Linked DNA regions of Homo sapiens: region 2 is linked to region 1. The links are contacts of gene promoters, found by promoter capture Hi-C in human tissues and cell types (Jung and others, 2019). All regions are on one chromosome and are shown on one strand. The core of a region is centred on a gene start or on the middle of the fragment in contact, and the rest is flanking DNA. Distances in the headings are between cores, read along the strand shown.

The links. The method cuts DNA at HindIII sites, captures the fragments that hold promoters and counts their contacts. A contact is called where the count stands out against the background at its distance.
Region 2: a fragment that was not itself captured here is called in contact with the fragment with the promoter of ADAMTS8 in region 1 in 1 of the 25 tissues and cell types used here (liver).

Annotation. Positions count from the first base shown.
Region 1 is chr11:130,426,554-130,430,571 of GRCh38, reverse strand. It overlaps ADAMTS8 (ADAM metallopeptidase with thrombospondin type 1 motif 8), which reads left to right and starts at 1,963. Exons shown (of 9, transcript NM_007037.6): 1 at 1,963-3,005. The coding sequence starts at 2,286. The HindIII fragment of the contact is 15,783 bases long and covers 1-4,018 here.
Region 2 is chr11:130,755,768-130,759,785 of GRCh38, reverse strand. No RefSeq gene overlaps it. Among named protein-coding and RNA genes, the nearest start is that of LINC02873, 85 kb to the right of the region's middle. RefSeq lists an enhancer at 528-1,116. The HindIII fragment of the contact is 6,683 bases long and covers 1-4,018 here.

The DNA of each region.
Region 1 (4,018 bases), core at 714-3,213:
GAGGTTGAGGCAGGCGGATCACCTGAGGTCAGGAGTTGGAGACCAGCCTGGCCAAAATGGTGAAACCCCATCTCTACTGAAAGTACAAAAGTTAGCCAGGTGTGGTGGTGCCTGCCTGCAGTCTCAGCTACTTGGGAGGCTGAGGCAGGAGAATCTCTTGAACCTGAGAGGGAGAAGTTGCTGTAAGCCAAGATCGCACCATTGCACTCCAGCCTGGGTGACAAAGTGAGACTGTGTCTCAAAAAGAGAAAATCAGGAGTTGTACTCTGGGAAACAGCAAATAAGGGGCTTCAAGGAGGTAAAAACCAGTCATTGAACTGTTACAATAGCCCTGAGGCAACACAGAGTTGTATTCATTGCTTGCCCAGGTCAGACTGTCCCAAGCACTGTACAGGATGTCCCAAGCACTGTACACTGTGCTAGGACGAAGTGTTTTGCTTGTTTTGAGAAAAGGGTTGAAGAGACCATTCTTTCCATTGTCCTTCCTCTAGAAGTGTTTCCCCAAAACATTCTAGACTCGTTATTCCTATCCTATAAATTATGCAGGAAAGGAGGTTCTGCACCATGCTAGGTTGGGAAGTTCATCCTTTCATCTAATTCACAGCTGTCCCTCTGTGTTTCTGAGAAAGCAAAGAGAGGGGGGATACTTAGAGGGAATTTGGCAGCACTTTCCCCTGGGCAAGAGCCTCCTCTTTGGAGGTAACAAGCCCTGAGAGTCTCAGATGCATGCTGAACCACCACACTGCAGGAAGGGGTCAGATGGGCTGAAAAGAATCAGCGATGACCTCGACTGTCAACATCCCCAGCATAAGCACAGAGCTGGGTACCTGGGGGCAGGTGAATTGGCAAAGGATTTAAAGGCCCTGATCCCAGCGGTTCCTAATGCATCACCCACATTGACAACTCAGAGAAAGGCACAGTTGGTGGATGAGTCTAGAGTTTGTAGGTAGAGAACAGGGCCCTCCACCCAATCCAGACCTGTGTCATTGAGACTGGGATGGGATGCAGTTTTGTGGTCTTGAGACCATGTCATCCCTCTCTTCCTGAATACTACCCCCTTCCCTAGGGGGCAGTGGTGACATGGGACAGAATAAATTCACCTCATACACATTTGTTCCTGGGGCTGTGGCAACGCAGTGAAAGGGCCTGCCACCTTACTTGAAGTCCCGGGCAACTAGCAGTATCCAGAAGAGAAGACCTTTTTCAGGGACTGGAGGTCTGTTTCCCTCTTGGGGAAATGCTAACTTCCAACCTCAGTGCTGGTAACTTACCACTGTGCTGGCCTCTGCCCCACCTGCCCTCTAACAGGACAGTGAGAGTCCCTCTTAGGGTTAACCAGGTGGGTTGTTTTTTGTTTTGTTTTTGTTTTCCCCATCTTCAGTTTGGAGTGAAAGTTAGGAAGGCTGTGCAGTAGTGATGAGAGGAGGGCATGATTTTAGCATGACCTTTTCCTCCTCTCCCTTTATGCTTTACAATGAAAAGCTCAGGAACCTTCTCCCCACACAGTCGGATCTCCGGAGGCATCTGCAGGGATCCCAACAGTGTCGGGCTCTGCAGTCGGACTCTGCAGGGATCCGAACAGGGTCGCTGAGACCAGTGCACGAGCCTCTTCGGAAGATGCATCCTGGACTCTTGGCCGCAGAGGAGAAAGCGGTTGGGGTCTCCCAGGGACTCTTTCTAAAGGGTCAGTCCAGCATGGTAGGGGTTAACGTGGGTCCACGCGTAGAGGGAAAGGAAAGAAGTTGTAGTTGACACTTCAGGGGGGCGGGTGGCGGACGGGTCTCGCTGCCTGATTGGTTTTGCATTTCATCCCAATTTTTTTTTCTCCACTCTCTCTCCCTCTTTTCAGTTTCTCTCTCTGATCCCAGGGGAGGGGAAACGGGAATAGTGAGAGATCAAAAATAAACCTCTTATGTCAAGCCGGGAAGGAAGTATAAATAAGAAGGGCTCGGCAGCCCACTCGGTGCTTCCCGGGGTGGGGAGGAGGCAGGAGGCGGCTGCGCGGGGCTGGCGCGGGCAGGGGCGGAGGACGGGCGCACGCGGGCCGGGGCCAGCTGCTCGCGCTCGGCTCGGGGGCGGCGGCGCGGGAGGAGCGGGCTGCGCCAGCCAGAGGGGCCGCCGGGGGAGCGCTCCCGCCGCCGGGCCCCGCGGGCCGAGTCGGCCTTGCACCCGATTGATTCCGCTTTTCCTGGAGAGAGCGGCCGGGCCGCGCTCGGGCCGCCAGCACCTGCCCGCGCCTGGCGGGCTTCTTCCCTCTCCTGCGCGCAGCCACCGCCGCAGCCCCCATGCTCCCCGCCCCCGCCGCCCCCCGGTGGCCTCCGCTCCTGCTGCTGCTGCTGCTGCTGCTGCCGCTGGCCCGCGGCGCCCCGGCCCGGCCCGCAGCCGGGGGGCAGGCCTCGGAGCTGGTGGTGCCCACGCGGTTGCCCGGCAGCGCGGGCGAGCTCGCGCTCCACCTGTCCGCCTTCGGCAAGGGCTTCGTGCTGCGCCTGGCGCCCGACGACAGCTTCCTAGCGCCCGAGTTCAAGATCGAGCGCCTCGGGGGCTCCGGCCGGGCGACCGGGGGCGAGCGGGGGCTGCGCGGCTGCTTCTTCTCCGGCACCGTGAATGGGGAGCCCGAGTCGCTGGCGGCGGTCAGCCTGTGCCGCGGGCTGAGCGGCTCCTTCCTGCTGGACGGCGAGGAGTTCACCATCCAGCCGCAGGGCGCGGGGGGCTCCCTGGCTCAGCCGCACCGCCTGCAGCGCTGGGGTCCCGCCGGAGCCCGCCCCCTCCCGCGAGGACCCGAGTGGGAGGTGGAGACGGGAGAGGGTCAGAGGCAGGAGAGAGGAGACCACCAGGAGGACAGCGAGGAGGAGAGCCAAGAAGAGGAGGCAGAAGGCGCTAGCGAGCCGCCACCGCCCCTGGGGGCCACGAGTAGGACCAAGCGGTTTGTGTCTGAGGCGCGCTTCGTGGAGACGCTGCTGGTGGCCGATGCGTCCATGGCTGCCTTCTACGGGGCCGACCTGCAGGTAGGACTGAGAGCCTCCTCCAGCCGCCGTGCCCGGAGGCCCCCCAGACGCCTCCCAGCGTCTCTAAAATCTCCCCTTCCAATCCCTCTGAGAAAAAAAAAAAAAAAAAAAAAAAGCCCTCCCCACTCATCTTCTCCAGCCTTACCCCAAACGAGATTCTCTCCTGTCTGAGAAAGAGCAGTAACTCTTTTCTGAACTTCTGCCACCCTGGATCCCTGCGCCCCCACCCCCAGGTCCCTTCCAGTTTAGAGTGGGGCTGCCGACGCCCATCCCTCTCATCCGAATCTCCCGCGGCACGTGGCGCACTGACCCGAAAGTGGGTATCAACGCATTCCCCGGCACCTGCCTCTCCCAGCAGAGATGAAAATTGAGCGTTTACGAATAGCTCCCACTCCCACCCCTCAGCCCTCTACTGCCTCCAGATCTGAGAGGCTCCCAGGGAAAGGCAGATGGGATGGAGAGAGATGGCTGTCTGATTCCCTTGGGTATGGAGGTCGCCATAAGCAAAAGACATTGTTTGAAAGGAGCTGAACCTGGAGAGGGGCTGCCCAACTTCTGTGCAGCCAGCTGGTTGTGATCAATGGGGCATGGACTACCTTGCCAACCTGGCGCTCAGCCCCGGCAGAACTTGGCAATGCCAGCAGCCAGCACAAGAGGGAGGGGCAGAGAACTTCTGCCTGGGGGCTCAGCCCAGGAGCTGAAGCTTTGGTGGAAACGCGAGGGGCGCAGGGGCTGGAACGAGCTCTTTGGGTGAATGTCTCTAGTAAAGCCAGACCCACACTTGGTCCACCCAGCTGCCCTTAGCCCAGACACAGCTCTTACCTAAACAGGGGAGAAAAACAGAGTCCAGGGGATGGCTACCTAACCAGACCATTTCTAACTAGATGCAAAGATGGTGCTGACTCAGCAGGAGGTGTCTGTGTTGCCCTAAACCCCAATTTCTCCCCTAAAGACCAGGTGAAGGCTTTTCCAGGAGGAAAAGAGGGTAAGGCTTCCAGAAGAGGGGTGCTCTT
Region 2 (4,018 bases), core at 444-2,943, 330 kb before region 1:
TTGTATCTTCCCAACTGACATTATCAGGATGTTTCTCAGTTCCATATTTTTGTGCCTGATCAATATTGCTAGGTACTACTATTTACACTCAGTCTTCCTTACCAAATCAGAATATCTCCACTGTTTTTCAAACTAACGTGAACCTCTATTTTAGACAGTACCTGACTGCTAGGAGTTCACATCAAATTCAGGCATACTGATTTAGATACCCAGAAAGGACACACAAAAATCTCAATAGAAGGAGTAAAAGTCAGAGATATATGTTGTAGTAAATGCTTCGTAGGGCAGGCAAACAATCCATTTTGTAGTAACCCAAAGTAAACCAAGGCTAGGCATGTTGAGAAACGAAAAACTGGCAAAGCAAGAATGTACCGGGATTTGCAAAACTATAACAGAGGTATGCAAAGATAAGAAATGGCGATTTCTCATCTTAGTCTTCATGACTGAAGAAAAACATATATGTAGAGGTTTGAGAATTAAGACAAAATCACTGAGATCTGGAAGGGAGGTGGTTAGGACAGAAGAGCACTGGCTTTGTCTTCCAAGAGACCTGGGTTTGAATCCAGCTCTGCTATGTATTTGACATTTTAATATAGACAAGTTATAGGCTTTCCAAACCTTATTTTTTCTTAATAATACTTCATAGGAGTCAGGCCTCTGAGCCCAAGCCAAGCCATCACATGCCCTGTGACTTACATGTATATGCCCAGATGGCCTGAAGTAACTGAAGAATCACAAACAAAGTGAATATGCCCTGCCCCACCTTAACTGATGACATTCCACCACAAAAGAAGTGTAAATGGCCAGTCCTTGCCTTAAGTGAGGACATTACCTTGTGAAAGTCCTTTTCCTAGCTCACCCTGGCTCAAAAAGCACCCCCACTGAGCACCTTGAGACCCCCACTCCTGCCCACCAGAGAACAAACCCCCTTTGACTGTAATTTTCCTTTACCTACCCAAATCCTATAAAACGGCCCCACCCTTATCTCCCTTCGCTGACTCTCTTTTCGGACTCAGCCCACCTGCACCCAGGTGAAATAAACAGCTTTACTGCTCACACAAAGCCTGTTTGGTGGTCTCTTCACACGGACGCGCATGAAATTTGGTGCCATGACTCGGATCAGGGGACCTCCCTTGGGAGATCAATCCCCCGTCCTCTTGTTCTTTGCTCCATGAGAAAGATCCACCTATGACCTCAGGTCCTCAGACCGACCAGCCCAAGAAACATCTCACCAATTTCAAATCCGGTAAGTGGCCTCTTTTTACTCTCTTCTCCAACCTCCCTCACTATCCCTCAACCTCTTTCTCCTTTCAATCTTGGTGCCACACTTCAATCTCTCCCTTCTCTTAATTTCAATTCCTTTCAATTCCTTTGGTAGAGACAAAGGAGACGCATTTTATCCGTGGACCCAAAACTCCGGCGCCGGTCACGGACTGGGAAGGCAGCCTTCCCTTGGTGTTTAATCTTTGCAGGGACGCCTGCCTCGGTCCTTCACCCTTAGCGGCAAGTCCTGCTTTCCTGGGGCAGGGGCAAGTACCCCTCAACCCCTTCTTCACCCTCAGCGGCAAGTCCTGCTTTCCTGGGGCAGGGGCAAGTACCCCTCAACCCCTTCTCCTTCACCCTCAGCGGCAAGTCCCGCTTTCCTAGGGGGCAAGAACCCCCCAATCGCTTATTTCCACACCCCAACCTCTTATCTCTGCGCCCCAATCCCTTATTTCCGTGCCCCAACCCCTTCTCTGCTTTTCTGGAGGGCAAGAACCCCCCACCCCTACTCCATGTCTCTACTCTTTTGTCTGGGCTTGCCTCCTTCACTATGGGCAAGCTTCCACCTTCCATTCCTCCTTCTTCTCCCTTAGCCTGTGTTCTCAAAAACTTAAAACCTCTTCAACTCACACCTGACCTAAAACCTAAATGCCTTATTTTCTTCTGCAATGCCACTTGACCCCAATACAAACTCGACAGTAGTTCCAAATAGCCAGAAAATGGCACTTTCAATTTTTCCATCCTGCAAGATCTAAATAATTCTTGTCGTAAAATGGGCAAATGTTCTGAGGTGCCTGACGTCCAGGCATTCTTTTACACATCTGTCCCTTCCTAGTCTCTGTGCCCAGTGCAACTCGTCCCAAATCTTCCTTCTTTCCCTCCCGCCTGTCCCCTCAGTCCCAACCCCAAGCGTCGCTGAGTCTTTCTAATCTTCCTTTTCTACAGACCCATCTGACCTCTCCTCTCCTCGCCAGCTCAAGCTAAGTCCCAATTCTTCCTCAGCCTCCGCTCCTGCACCCTGTAATCTTTTTATCGCCTCCCCTCCTCACACCTGGTCTGGCTTACAGTTTCATTCCGTGACTAGCCCTCCCCCACCTGCCCAGCAATTTACCCTTAAAAAGGTGGCTGGAGCCAAAGGCATAGTCAAGTTTAACGCTCCTTTTTCTTTATCCCAAATCAGATAGCGTTTAGGCTCTTTTTCATCAAATATAAAAACCCAGCCCAGTTCATGGCTAGTTTGGCAGCAACCCTGAGAGGCTTTACAGCCCTAAACCCTAAAAGGTCAAAAGGCCGTCTTATTCTCAATATACATTTTATTACCCAATCTGCTCCCGACATTAAATAAAACTCCAAAAATTAAATTCCGGCCCTCAAACCCCACACAGGATTTAATGAACCTCGCCTTCAAGGTGTACAATAATAGAAAAAAGTTGCAATTCCTTGCCTCCACTGTGAGACAAACCCCAGCCACATCTCCAGCACACAAGAACTTCCAAACGCCTGAACCGCAGCGGCCAGGCGTTCCTCCAGAACCTCCTCCAGGAGCTTGCTACAAGTGCCAGAAATCTGACCACCAGGCCAAGGAATGCCCGCAGCCCAGGATTCCTCCTAAGCCATGTCCCATCTGTGCAGGACCCCACTGGAAATCGGACTGTTCAACTCACCTGGCAGCCACTCCCAGCGCCCCTGGAACTCTGGCCCAAGGTTCTCTGACTGACTCCTTCTCGGCTTAGCGGCTGAAGACTGATGCTGCCCGATCACCTCAGAAGCCCCCTAGACCATCACGGACGCCGAGCTTCAAGTAACTCTCACAGTGGAGGGAAGTCCGTCCCCTTCTTTATCAATACGGAGGCTACCCACTCCACATTACCTTCTTTTCAAGGGCCTGTTTCCCTCGCCTCCATAACTGTTGTGGGTATTGATGACCAGGCTTCTAAACCTCTTAAAACTCCCCAACTCTGGTGCCAACATAGACAATACTCTTTTAAGCACTCCTTTTTAGTTATCCCCACCTGCCCAGTTCCCTTATTAGGCCAAAACACTTTAACTAAATTATCTGCTTCCATGACTATTCCTAGACTACAGCTATATCTCATTGCTGCCCTTCTTCCCAATCCAAAGCCTCCTTTGCGTCCTCCTCTTGTATCCCCCCCACCTTAACCCACAAGTATAAGATACCTCTACTCCCTCCTTGGTGAGACTGATCACGCACCCCTTACCATCTCATTAAAACCTAATCACCCTTACCCCGCTCAACGCCAATATCCCATCCCGCAGCACGCTTTAAAAAGATTAAAGCTTGTTATCACTCGCCTGCTACAGCATGGCCTTTTAAAGCCTATAAATTCTCCTTACAATTCCCCCATTTTACCTGTCCTAAAACCAGACAAGCCTTACAAGTTAGTTCAGGATCTGCACCTTATCAACCAAATTGTTTTGCCTATCCACCCCATGGTGCCAAACCCATATACTCTCCAATCCTCAATACCTGCCTCTACTACCCATTATTCTGTTCTGGATCTCAAACATGCTTTCTTTACTATTGCTTTGCACCCTTCATCCCAGCCTCTCTTTGCTTTCACTTGGACTGACCCTGACACCCATCAAGCTCAGCAAATTACCTAGGCTGTACTGCCGCAGAGCTTCACAGACAGCCCCCATTACTTCAGTCAAGCCCAAATTTCTTCCTCATCTGTTACCTATCTCGGCATAATTCTCATAAAAGCACACGTGCTCTCCCTGCCAATCGTGTTCG